3 separate regions of the Homo sapiens genome follow, and regions 1 and 2 are each linked to region 3. Evidence: promoter capture Hi-C in human tissues and cell types (Jung and others, 2019). All regions are on one chromosome and are shown on one strand. Each heading gives the region's core, a stretch centred on a gene start or on the middle of the fragment in contact. The rest is flanking DNA. Distances are from core to core; before and after follow the strand shown. Region 1 overlaps LOC101927118 (a long non-coding RNA gene). Region 2 overlaps LOC101927118 (a long non-coding RNA gene). Region 3 holds the start of PMP2 (peripheral myelin protein 2).

Region 1 (4,712 bases), core at 1,871-4,370, 47 kb after region 3:
GAATACAACCATGTACTCTGAATATGATTCTGTGTCCATAAGTATACTGGTACCATACCATTTTTAACGACTCCAAAGTCTTCACTGATTGAATGTATACTGTATTATATACCATGTATAATCAATATTTTACAATAAAACATCTTGTTTTTTTCCAAGGCTTTTTTGCTGCAATAGGGAATACTGTACCCCAGTGACCATCACTATGCAAATATCAAAACAGATATTTCCAATGATATCCATAGGATACATTTTTGGAAATGAAAATGTTGGGTCAAATAAATAGATATTTTAAGGCTTTAAAAATGTACTGCCAAATTTCTCTCCAAAATATTTGTACCGGTTGACCATCTTATTTCATGTGGATATATGTCCTAAAAACATTCAGACCCTTTAGAATTCAAGAAATTTCAAAATATTATAGGTAGAAGATATTTTATACATATATAGTGAAGTTAGTTTTTTATGAGAAAATGGACCAAGGTTAGACAAACAATAGTGGCAGAGTTGCCCTAGTAACCAGGTTTTCTTCTTCTTCTTCTTTTTTTTTGTAGACAGGGTCTCACTCCAATTGCCTGGGCTGATCTCAGCTCACTGCAGCCTTGACTTCCCAGGCTCAGGTGATTCTCCCATCTCAGCCTCCCTGAATAGCTGGGACTACAGGCATGTGTCACCATGCCTGATTAATTTTTTGTATCTTTAGTAGATACAGGGTTTCATCATGTTGTCCAAGCTGGTCTTGAACTCCTAGACTCAAGGTATCCAGGTTTTCTGAGTCCATTACTCTTCCCATTAATCTGTGCTCCTCCTTCCAGAAAGCCTGGAACTCCTTAATCAATAAGCAAAGCAGTTTTTAATCACATCATAAACTTTATTAGAGTGTAACATGCAAATGGATTTAAGGAACATGAGATTTTAGTTCAATTTCTCTGAAAAGCCATAATTCTTCTGTGATCTCATAGCACTTTGCACATCATAACCATATGTGCTTATGTTTCTGACCTCCAGACTATGAGCGTCTTGGGTTTTTTTTTTTTTTTTGACAGAGTCTTGCTCTGTTGCCCAGCTGGAGTGCAATGGCACAATCTCAGCTTACTGCAGCCTCTGCCTCCCAGGTTCAGGCGATTCTTGTGCCTCGCCTCCCGAGTAACTGGGATTACAGGAGTGCACCACCACACCTGGCTCATTTTTGTATTTTTAGTGGAGACAGGGTTTCACCATGTTGGCCAGGCTGGTCTGGAGCTCCTGACCTAAAGTGATCCACCCACCTTGGCCTCCCAAAGTGCTGGGATTACAGGCGTGAACCACCGCATCCGGCCTCAGACTGTGAGCTTCTTGAAGGGGCAGTTGTACATGCAGAGCATTTCTGGCAAACAGTAGGCATGAGTTTCTGGTTCATAGTAGACACTTGGGAAATAATGTTTGAGAGAGAAAAATGGGGAAGAGGTTAGAGAGGAGAAAGAGAAAAATAAGGAGAAAAAAAGTAAAGAGGAATGAGAGAGGAAGGGGAAAAGTGAGAGATGGCACATTGGGATGAAGACACAGGTACCTTAAGTTTGCAGACAAAGTGAGAACCATGTGCTGGAATGAAAACACCAGATAGCAGCAGATGCCACAATAGGCACTAACTGTGATGAGATGCTGATAAAGAGACAGAACAGGAGCAGCTCATCCAGGAACAATTTTGATTACAAGGAAACACTGAGTATTCTTTCTGGGAGGCACTTTTGCTGTGAGATTTCCCCCAGTGAACTCTGATCGAGTAAGAAACCACAAACGTCAGGCATCTGTGAAATACATTTGCCATCTGGGTGTTAACTTCCCTCTTGACGAAAATCCTCTCTCACTAGGTGAAATGTGAATAAATGCAGAATAAATTACTGCATTTATTACTGTGGCTTGCCAAGATTCTCCACATCTAGATGTTATTCCTTCTGCTGCAAGATTCTTGATGGCAATTCTATGCTGTGAAGAGACTATCATCCTTTACAACTTTGTCATTGTATTAAAGCTTATATTCAATGGATATGAACATACCTGTGACATTTTCTTGGTTGCCTTATAAACTGTGTTATGGAATAAAACAACCATGAGCTCTGGTATTAAGACATGTTGAAATTTGATTGGCACTATTCACTAGCTTGTGATCTTTGGCAAGCTAGTTAATTTCTGTGACACTCAGCTTTCTCATCTGTAAAATTGAAAAACTATGCTTTATTGCTATTGTTTAGATTAGCAATCTTAAATGCCAAGTATTTTGCATGTTGCTTAGCATATAGTTGCATATGTTCCTTAACATATACCTTACTCGGCAGGTGGCAGCTTATATTAATAATAGTAGTAATAATAATAATATAGTCCTAGAAGACAAATCACAAACTTGGGGTTGTGTGTCCTGGGCTGGGAAAAATTAGAAAATTTTCTCTGATGCAGAATAGCCTCTCTGAGCATCATCTTTGGTCTCAAAACTCTCAAAACACTGAGCTTTCTTTAGCAATAATTCTGGAGTGAAAGTTTAATTTTGAGACCAATCTCAGCTATAGAAATTCATAAAATTCAAAATGAGTTTTGTTGATATCCATGACACAGAACAAGATTTTTTTTCTTAAGAGATAATACCATGTTAACACTCTCCTCTTTTCATAGTGGAAAATTTTCTTCTCCAGATGAGAATATTTTTGATATTTTAAAGATTAATATATACTTGATACAAAAATTCAAACTATATAGAAGAGAAAGTAATTGTGTCATTCTTCAGTGATCATAAGTTTTAACAATTCCATGAATACACTTTTCAGTCTTTTTCAATACATATGCAAACATACACATGGAATATGAATTTTATTAAAGACATTGGATAATATTGTGAACCCCAAAAATCTGAGACAGCTCTCAGTTAGTTTAGAAAGTTTATTTTGATAAGGTTGAGGACACGGGCCCGTGACACAGCCTCAGGAGTTTTTTTTGTTTGTTTGTTTTTGTTTTTGTTTTATTTTGAGACGGAGTCTCGCTCTGTCGCCCAGGCTGGAGTGCAGTGGCGCGATCTCAGGTCACTGCAAGCTCCGCCTCCCAGGTTCACGCCATTCTTCTGCCTCAGCCTCCCAAGTAGCTGGGATTACAGACACCCGCCACCACGCCCGGCTAATTTTTTGTATTTTTAGTAGAGACGGGGTTTCACAGTTTTAGCCAGGAACGTCTCGATCTCCTGACCTCGTGATCCACCCACCTCGGCCTCCCATAGTGCTGGGATTACAGGCGTGAGCCACCGCGCCCGGCCTAGGAGGTCTTGATGACATGTGCCCAAGGTGGCCAGAGCACAGTTTGGTTTTATACATTTTAGGGATGCATGAGACATCCATCAATATATATGTAAGTTGAACATTGGTTTGGTCCAGAAAGGTGGGACATCTCGAAACAAACATGCAGGACAACTCTAAGCAGGGAGGGGGCTTCCAGGTCATAGGTAGATAAAAGACAAGTGGTTGCATTCTTTTGAGTTTCTGATTAGCCTCTCCAAAGGAGGCAATCAGATATGCATTTATCTCAGTGAGCAGAGGGGTGTCTTTGAATAGAATGGTAGGCAGGTTTGCCCCGAGCAGTTCCCAACTTGACTTTTCCCTTTAGCTTAGCGATTTGAGGGCCCCAATATTTATTTTTCTTTCACAATATCAAGACTGTGTATGTATACACTCTTTCCATAACCTTCCTCTCCACTTAGTAATACACTGTGGTCATCTTTTCGTGTCAGTGGTATAGATATGTCTTATTTTTTAAAAAAATTGCTGCCAAGTATTCCATTTACATAGGTGCCATGTTTTAACCAATACTCCAGCTTTTCATTATTAAAAATTGTTTTAGTAAACATTCTTGTACATATATACCTTTGTTTAGTTGTGTAAATATTTTGCTATAATTCATGCTAGAGGTAGAATTGATGGACCAATGGTTATATACATTTAAATGTTGATATATATTTAAAGTTTTAAAGTGCCCTCCAAAGAGATCATATTCTTTAAACTCCTACCAATAGATGACCTATTTCCTCTCAGAGGAACTGGCTTAAAATGGGACTTGCTTTCAATGGGACTTATCACTTGAAATAGCCAAAATGGGCACAAAGCAAGTAGATTTAAAAAACACAAACTTGAGTACTAGACCAAGAGCCAGAAGCTTGTACAGACCCTGATTCACAGTAGTCAACAGTCACTCGACACATATTTGGTGACAGACTGAGTATCTGGCTATCTATCATCAAGGACCCAGCTTGGGAAAGGGCAAATAATTGAATGAGAAAATAAGTAACATTATATGTAAACATTAGTATTCATGGTCTTCTGCTAAAAGAAAAAGTGTGTGAGTGAAGAGTTTGAAGCAACTTCTCTTGGAAAGACTTAGAGCAGATGATGGGACCTTTTCAAATTTCAATTGGAGAGGTGAAGTCTAGAACCTTTGACTGTGTATTTTCATCAGCTTCTGAAATAATGAGGCATGTAAATTTCTGGGACTGTATCTAAGTCATAACTACTTTCTCAAGACCACTCAAGACCTTACAGCAGGGCATGGTGGCTCACACCTGTAATCTTAGCTACTCAGGAGTTTGATCAGGAGGATCACTTGGGCCCAGGAGTTTGAGACCAGCCTAGCCAACATAGCAAGACCCCATCTCAGAAAAAAAAAAAAAAAAAAAAAAAAAACCAGACCTTACAAAGTGT
Region 2 (4,877 bases), core at 1,443-3,942, 63 kb after region 3:
CAAAATCTTAATTATCATCTTGCTAACTTCAAAATACTATGTAATTCATTTTATTTATTTATTTATTTATTTTTAATTTTTTTTTTTTTTTTTTTTTTTGTGATGGAGTCTTGCTCTGTCGCCCAGGCTGGAGTGCAATGGCATGATCTTGGCTCACTGCAAGCTCCACCTCCCGGGTTCATGCCATTCTCCTGCCTCAGCATCCCAAGTAGCTGGGACTACAGGCACCCGCCACCATGCCCAGCTAATTTTTTGTATTTTTAGTAGAGATGGGGTTTCACCATGTTAGCCAGGATGGTCTTGATCTCCTGACCTCGTGATCCACCTGCCTTGGCCTCCCAAAGTGCTGGGATTACAGGCTTGAGCCACTGCGCCCAGCTGATGTAATTCATTTTAAATATCTTTTTGGTATAATCCTACCACCACCACCATATGCCAGGTATCAAGAAAAGGGAGAAGGTGAGGAAAGGGGATAACAAATACACATTAAGATATGTTATCTGCTAATGCAATAAGACAAGAAAAGGAATAAAAGATATACAGATTGGGAAGGAAGAAATAAAACTGTTTCTGTTTGCTGATGATACAATCATCTATGTAGAAAATCTAAAAGAATCAACAAAAAAAACCTTCTGGAACTAAAAAGTAAGTATAGAGGGGTTGCAGGATACAAGGTTAATACACAAATGTCAATTGCTTTTCTATTTACCAACAATTAACAAGTGGAGTCTAAATTAGTCTCCACAATACCATTTATATCACCACCCCTAAAAATGAAACACTTAGATAGAAATCTAACAAAATATCTATAAGAACTAAAGGGGAACTATAAAACTTATGAAAGAAATCAAGGGAAAACTAAATAAATAGATATTTCATGCTCATAATAGGAAGACTCAATATTGTCAAGATGTCAGTTCATCCCATCTTGATTTATAGATTCAATGCAATTTCAATCAAAATGCCAGCAAGTAATTTTGTAAATATTGACAACCTGATTCTAAAGTTTATATGTTGATACAAAAGACCGAGAATACCCAACACAATATTGAAGGAGAAAAAGTTGGAGGATCGACATCAAGACATACTATAAAGTACAATAATCAAAGCAGTGCAGTACTGGTGAAAGAAAGGGCAAATAGATCAATGGAACAGAACAGAAAGCTCAGAAATAGACCCACATAAATATAGTCAGCTGACCTTTGACAAAGGAGCAAAGGCAACACAATAGAACAAAGAGTCTTTTCAGCAAATGGTGCTGAAACAACTGGACATCTACATGCAAAAAAAGAATCTAGATATAACCTCATACCCTTCACAAAAAGTAAGTCAAAGTGGATTACTGACCTAAATGTAAAATGCAAAAACTATAAAACTCCTAGAAGAAAACATAGGAGAAAAATCTAGCTGATCTTTGGTATGGTGATGACTTTTTAGATATGACTCCAAAGGCACAATCCATGAAAGAAATAATTGATAAGCTGGACTTCATTAAAATTAAAAAATGCCTGCTTTGCAGAAGACACTGTCCAGAGAACAAGAAGACAAGCCACAGACTGGGAGAAAATATTTGCAAACAATATATCTGATAAAACACTGTTATTCAAAATGTACAAATAACTCTTGAAACTCAACAATGGGAAGATGAATAACTTGATTTAAAAATGGGCAAAACACTTGAACAGATACCTCACAAAAGAAGATAAACAGGTGACAAATAAGCATATGAAAAGATGCTCCACATCATATGTCATCAGCGAATTTCAAATAAAACAACAAGATACCACTACATGCCTATTAGAACGAACAACATTCAGAACACTGCAACACCAAATGCTAGTGAGGATGTGGATCAATGGGAACTCTGATTCATTGCCAGTGGGTACAAAATGGTACAGCCACTTTGGAAGACAGTTTTGCAGCTTACTTCAAAACTAAACTTACTCTCCCCGTCATCACTATACCACGCAACTGCACTCCTTGGTATTTACCCAAAACAATTGAAAACATATGTCCACACAAAAATCTGCACATAGATGTTTTAACAGCTTCATTAATAATTTTGCTCTAACTTGGAAGCAACCAAGATGTCCTTCAGTAGGTAAATGGATAACCCGTGGTACATGCAGACAATGGAATATTCAGTGATAAAAAGAAATGTGTTATCTAGCTATGAAAAATCACACAGGAAACTTAAATGCATCACTAAGTAAAAGAAATCAATAAGAAAGGCCACCTACTGCACAATTCCAACTATATAATATCCCGGAACAAATGAAAAAGATCAGTGGTTGCCGGGAGTTAGGGGGAAGAGAGGAATGAATAAGCACAGAGGATGTTTAGGGCAGTGAAACGATTCTGTATGATACTATAATGGTAGATAGTTGTCATTATACATTTGTCCAAACCCATATAATGTACAACACCAACAGTGAACTCTAACATAAACCAGGGACTTTGGGTGATAATGATGTGTCAGTGTAGGTTGTCCAGTTGTAACAACTGCGTCGCTGTGGTGGGGGATGTTGGTAATGGGAGAGGCTAGGCATGTGTAGAGACAGGGTAGATGAGAAATCACTGTATCTTCAACTCAATTTTGCTGTGAACTTAAAGGTGCTTTAAAAATAAAGTTTATTTTAAAAGTAAATAAATATTTAGAAAATTTACTACAGTTGACTCATGCTGCCCCATTAATACATAGATCACAGTTCCCAGTGCAAATACCATCATTGCTTCTAAAGGATGAAAATACTGATGTGTGGGTTGACCAACTGGTATGTTGATCCATGGGAGGCTGCACAGAAAACCCTGTGGCCAGGAGAAGCATTTTTAGTGGCATGTCTCTTTCTGAGCTCTGCCCATTTGTTCTAGGTGAGGGTTATGTATACTGCTCTTATCTCATAGCCCTACCAACATCCCTATGGCTCCTGTCACAAGATGCCTTGCCCAATGGCTCTCTCAAGGCCAAATGAAGCCTATAGTTTTGGAGAGTAAAAATCCCTTATTCACATTTGCTTTTATTCCTCTGATACACTATCCTGCCTTTGTTCCGTAGAGATGATTTTATTAGCATTTCATTTGTGTATGTACTGTATTTTATTTGTGTATCTCCTGAATTTGAATATCAGCCAAAAAGAAAACATAAGAACAATCTGGAAAAAAAGTTATCTGAGGAATCAATTAAAGATGCTCTTTTTTAATAAAAAAGAGAAATATTATCTGTGCTCATAGAGTTGACAAATATTGACATATTTGCTATGATAAATTTGTTTTATATTTGCATTCACCTGTGCTTAGATTGTTAATTTTTCATGAACAATGTGAAAGAATGCACAATATCTATGGTAAAACAGAGTATCTGCAGCAGTGGAATGGGCATAGCACACTTTTAGCTCCACAGAGCTCAGTCAGGTATTTGCATTTATGAGTAGCCTGAAATCTTTAGAGTTTTGTAGGAGGGCAAAAAGGAGAGATACTACCCTGATGGTGCAGTTACATCAATAGCCTGTAGACCATAAGGCTGCTTGCCCATAAGACCTTGCAAAACTTAAACTCATCCAGTGTTAGGTGACAACTGGGCCTAAGGTAGTCCTTTTCCTTTAAGTAGTATTTGGTTTCAAAATGGAACTCTTGAAGATAGAAACATTTTGAAGAGTCAAAGGGAAAATGTGTCATTAGAGTTCTCCTGATAGGAGATCTCAGAGGAGAAGGGGAATGAAGAAAAGCTTTCATGATATCTCTCAAATTATTCCTCCTGGACCTGTACTAGTTTCTCCTATATGGGAGGCTAATACTTAACACATGGACCTTATTGTCTCTAGAGTCAATCTTTTTGAGAATAACCCATCATAATTTTACTCCCCCAATTTCTTAAAAGACATTTTCTTCATTCATACATTTCACCTTTATGTCTAATAATTAGGGTCAGTATATATAAGATTTCATAGAACTTATAAAAATCTGGAAATGTATCTAAACATAGAAAAATTATAATAAAAAGAGGACGGTCACTACTATACACATGTTAGAATAGCTAAAATGAAAAAGACTGACCCAAATGTTGACAAGGATGTGAAGAAACTGAAACTTTCATACACTGCTGGTGAGAACGTTAAATAGTATATCCACTTTGAAATATTGGTTGAAAATTTCTTTAAAATTAAGCATGCACTTACCATATGATCTAGCCATTCCATCCCTTGGTATTTATCCAAAAGAAATAAGTGTCCAGGGAAAGGTCTATGCATAACTGCTTATAGCTGCTTTATTTGCAATAGGCAGAAACATAAAATAACCCTAAAGTATACCAATAAGTGAACAGATAAACAAATTATGGTATCTATACAAAGAAATACTACACAGAAATAAAAAGAAATGAAGGATACATGTAATTATGATGAGTTTAAAAACCCAGAAAAAAAAAAGAGAAAAGAGTGTATGATTCCATTTACAAGAAACTCTAGAAAATGAAAACTAATCTATAGTGAAAGGGAGGTGATCATCAGTGATTGCCTTCAGATGGGGTGGGGCAAAGACAGGGGGAGTGGCATGGAAAGGGACACCAAAGGGCAGGAGGAAACTTTTGGGAGTAATGGATATGCTCATTATCTTAATTGTGGTGATTGTTTCACAGGTGTATGCATGGATCACAATATATCAAAGTGTATAATTTAAATATGTGTAGTTTGTTCTATGTCAAATATATCTCAATAAAATTATTTAACAAAGAGACTGGTCAGTTTAAAATTCGACTGAGAAAAATACTGGACAACAGACATCTAGAACAAAGAAGAGACAGAGAAATGAAAACTTGAACATTAAATGTATGAAAGCCTTTAGATAAATCTTTCTATAATAAATGATAGAGAGAGTAGGTA
Region 3 (4,533 bases), core at 1,029-3,528:
GGACTCAAACATTTTAGGTTTTGTTGTTGCAAAAGTAAAGTCTGCAGATTTTCTTTTTTTTTTTTCTTTTTCTTTTCTTTTTGAGACGGAGTCTCGCTCTGTCGTCCTGGTTGGAGTGCAATGGAGCAATCTCGGCTCACTGCAAGCTCCGCCTCCCAGGTTCACTCCATTCTCCTGCCTCAGCCTCCCGAGTAGCTGGGACTACAGGGGCCGCCACCACGCCTGGCTAATTTTTTGTATTTTTAGTAGAGACGGGGTTTCACCGTGTTAGCCAGGATGGTCTCGATCTCCTGACCTCGTGATCTGCCCTCCTCGGCCTTCCAAAGTGCTGGGATTACAGGCGTGAGCCACCGCGCCCGGCCAATGTCTGCAGATTTTCAAGAGTAAAAGTTTCCAGCTGAAATAGCTACTGCAAGTCATCCATTTTTATCACATCCAATCCTATTCCCCATTGAAAATTACTAATTATAGATTTGCATAAATCATTCTAGAGATTTTAGTTTGTATGTACAAATACTATAGATATATTTTAAAGATGAGACTATAGCATATACGTATTGTTCTATGATATTTTCCCTCAATACCATATTATGGATATAGAGAAGTATTCCCCTCATATTTTTGATAGAATTTCACTTCTGAAATTTTGTGGCTTCTATATCTAGCTGGTAGGAAAAAAACTATCCATCTAACTTTGAGATCTATACTATTATAAATGATCATAGAGAAATAAAATATTTTTTAAAAAACTCTTCTACATTTCAAAAATGAAACAAAATTAGACTCTTAAGTTTATTACCATTATTACCAAGACTATAAAATATATGGAAAAGGGAAAATGTAAAATAAAAAATATATGAAAGAAAAACTAATTTTCCAGGAAGTCTCAATGGTTGAATAACTTTTTCCAGTTAAAAAGATCTCAAACTTTTACATACTGAATAAGAAGTTAAGAGTTACAGCCAATAAACTATAAACTATATTCTTTCTTCAAATTCTGATTAATCTTTTGTTATTTTATACAGTTTAGGACAATGTTTCTCAAGTTAAATCATAATCTCTGGGTCAGAGCCTGAGAATTTATATTTACCAAATCCCAAGGTGTTATTTTGCATGCTAAACTGGAAAACAGTGGAATTAGAAAATCCTTCACTGAGACTTTCTTTTATTTGGCTTCTTCCTCAGCTGTAAAGTGAAGTCTTTAAATCTAACCGATCTCACAGTATGAATTGATCCCCATAAGTTCTCTTACTGTTCCAGGCAACAATGACATGACTTTGCTCATTTTATCTAAAATAGAACATTTTATACAGGCTTTCTGAACAGTTAAGTAAAGCTGTAGGCACTTTGACAAGCACAGCAAACTCGGGTCACTGGCATCACTCTTTATTGTATTTATATAGTTCTGAAAATTCCCAAAGACTCTTCATATCTATTGTGTTTATATCGATGGGACATACTCTAGAAATAGTATAAAATAAAGTTGTTGTAACTAATGACTCGGTTTTCCATCTTCACTCACTGCTCCAACTCCAGAAACGTCTGATGTTAGCGAAATTGAGTTTGAATTCACTGCCATAACTCCAGTTCTTTTTCTCTCAGTAACTTCCCTAGACTATGAACACAGTATTTTAGGAAGTATTTTTGTTTTTCAAACTCTCTGTATCTACATGATTGTGTAATAAAGGACAACCTAGAGGTAGAGAGAAAAAACTGTTAGTTTAGCTAAAACTTAAATTTTTAAATTGAGATTTTCTAGGATTTGCAATATATTCAATTCCTTATTTTATGAACACTTCAGTTGCTATGAACGTAGCTCTCAGAAAAGCCAGAAAATGGGTTGACCATGCTTTTAAGCTTTCTCTCCTCTGGACCTGCAACCAAAATTCTCTTGGTATGAAATTGCCCTTGAAATCAGTGGGCATTCCATGCATTTAAGCAGCTCTCTCATTTAAGTTAATTCTATTAAAAATTACCACAAATAAAATTCAAATAAATTATCTGAATGACACAACAAAAGATTAATCCTAAAAGAGGATTGTACTGCAGCCTTGCAAAACTCCCCAGTATCCTGTTAAAAGTAGTAGATGAAAATGTCATGTAGCTTTCTTAAAAAGGAGCTTTTCAGCAGAACAACAAAAAGCATTTCTTACCCAGAGCTTTCATGTAATCGTCAAAGTTCTCACTAGAGACAAGTTTCCAGGTGCCCAGGAATTTGTTGCTCATCGTGATGGGTGAGAGCTCAACACAGTTCTAAGTGGGATTCAGAAGACTCAGATAAAATGCTGAGGCCTCAGAAGATTCTTTTCAAGGATGCCCAAAGCGTGTGACTCTTACAGAGACCCAATGGGGAAAGGCAGTGTCGGGACTAAGCAATGAATGGCTCTTCAATGGCCAGCTGCCCGCCCAATAGGATAAAAGAAAACCCCACATAATACTTCCCTTTGTCTCCAAAAAAATTTATAAAATGAATGAGATTACTATTTGAATCTTCAAAAATTTTTTGATCAATCTTACATTTATAAGAAGGCTTAGGCCCTTCATGCTTTGGAAAAGACTGCATGAATTCTGTGATCATGAATGAATGTGTGTGTGTTTAGGCATGTCGGTCACTCTCAATCCTGAGTCTGCACAATTAAGAATTCTTATTGAAAGGGAAGAAAAAGAGGAAAATGTCTGTAAGTATTATGATAACAGTCTCAAATATGTTGTGGGAGAGAAACGTAGGGGAGCAGTGTGAGGAAGTATTCATAGGTAAGAAGGCTTGGCATAGTTCACATATCCCAGGCAGGCAGAGTAGGCAGACAAAGAAGTCAGTCTATTGCAGCAGAGCACAGAAATTGTATTCATGTGATGAAACAAGAAGTAGCACTATAACATGTTCTTTGAGCACAACAAAGATTTTCAGCTAGAAATACTTAAAGTCTGAACTAAGCAGGTTCCTGGATACTATAACTATTTGTGTTTAAGTCATTTAAAATGAATCTACAATTTTATAAAGAGGATTTTCTATAGAAAGAGTACTAATTTATATTGACAACTCACTATGGGCCAGACACTGTGCTAAGTGCTTAATACGGGTGATCTCATTTAATTATATCACTAATTCCAAGAGTTAGGAACTATTATTATATCCATTTTACCAATGATAAAAATGAGCTTGGGGACATTAGGTAAATTGCTCCCAAAAGTTGAATAAGGAGAGGACAGGTTTGAACCCAGCATTGCTGCCAGTGCCCGGGTTCTGAACCATGATCTTACCCTGCTTCTATTATACTATACCATACATGCTACGTGCACGGAGGCCCTGGCCAGAGATCACCTGATGCTGATAGCACCACGATTAGCTAGAAACACTCTCTCTCTTCTCAAAAATCAAGAGAGGTAAAAAATCAAAAGATCCAGCCTACTATATTACATCAAAGCCCCAGTCTTTGGCCAAGGGGAACAAACGTAAATCCACTTAGAACATAAGTGTTGCTCTTGAGAATCTCTGATTACTGCTATATCTTTCCTAGCAGGTTTTTTGTTTGTTTGTTTTTGTTGTTGTTTGTTTGTTGTTTGTTTTTACCTTAGCATTAATTCTGGCTGGAGACAACTGATATTACCAAGTTTTATACATTTAGTAAACAGGTTGGCACTGTTTACAACAACAAAAATATGATGAATTTGCTCATAACAGGTAGAATTACTAGCAAGAAGGGCTCAAGAAACCCAGTCGCATAGCTGTGACATAACTATTGCAGTTACATAGTTAGAGTTCAAGCTGAGTAAAACACGTGAAATCATATACAGTGGGCTGAAGTTTCATTTACAATCCCAGTGCCTGAATAGCTCAAGGTGGGAAAGAAATGGTGAATAGGAAAATTCCTCAGCTAACCAACTAACCCAATCCTAAACCCAAGAGAATGTAACTGGAGGGAGTACATTGTACTGGGATAGAAAAAACAACTGTGAAAGAAAAAGCTTTTGATTAGTGGATATGTTATTTTATTTTCCAAAACACTTTACAGAAATGATGATATCACTTGTACCTTCAAAACTTTTTTTTTTTTGTTAGCTGTACACTATTAAGGAGTACAGCATTCAACATTTAGGTTTTCTGCCTAAATAAATGAAGGACTCCCAAACCCTCACACTAGAGCTGAGACCTTGTATTCAGTGGGACTGCTACAAGAAAGCTGTGTGAATTTTAAGCTGACTCTGTGTTGCACATAGGAACAGCAGTGGAGTTTAAAACATAAACATTGAGCCATATATTTCCAAGAGAGAAAACTTATAACTTTGAAGCAATATTAGACCAAGAGAAAAATTTTCTACTTAAGGCTTATCAGCAATTGTACCTGACTGCTATTAATAGAACTGACCAGACAAGTTTGGACCGTGATGGGATTCTGAGGCCAATATATGGGCCAAAGGCACAGATCAAAGCAATGAGGGAAGACCCGGACTGAACTAGGCCTGAAACATTACATCACTCCTAGCTAAGAAAGTCATCAATGTCCTAACAAGAAAGAATGCATAGAACCACAT

Evidence for each region. The method cuts DNA at HindIII sites, captures the fragments that hold promoters and counts their contacts. A contact is called where the count stands out against the background at its distance.
Region 1: a contact is called between a fragment that was not itself captured here and the fragment with the promoter of PMP2 in region 3, in 1 of the 25 tissues and cell types used here (liver).
Region 2: a contact is called between a fragment that was not itself captured here and the fragment with the promoter of PMP2 in region 3, in 2 of the 25 tissues and cell types used here (dorsolateral prefrontal cortex and mesenchymal stem cells).

What each region holds. Positions count from the first base shown.
Region 1 is chr8:81,490,888-81,495,599 of GRCh38, forward strand. The region is part of intron 1 of LOC101927118 (a long non-coding RNA gene); the gene reads left to right. Among named protein-coding and RNA genes, the nearest start is that of FABP4, 10 kb to the left of the region's middle. The HindIII fragment of the contact is 5,989 bases long and covers 127-4,712 here.
Region 2 is chr8:81,507,465-81,512,341 of GRCh38, forward strand. The region is part of intron 1 of LOC101927118 (a long non-coding RNA gene); the gene reads left to right. Among named protein-coding and RNA genes, the nearest start is that of FABP12, 24 kb to the right of the region's middle. The HindIII fragment of the contact is 4,592 bases long and covers 397-4,877 here.
Region 3 is chr8:81,445,161-81,449,693 of GRCh38, forward strand. It overlaps PMP2 (peripheral myelin protein 2), which reads right to left and starts at 2,279. Exons shown (of 4, transcript NM_002677.5): 1 at 2,154-2,279. The coding sequence starts at 2,226. The HindIII fragment of the contact is 7,076 bases long and covers 1-4,344 here.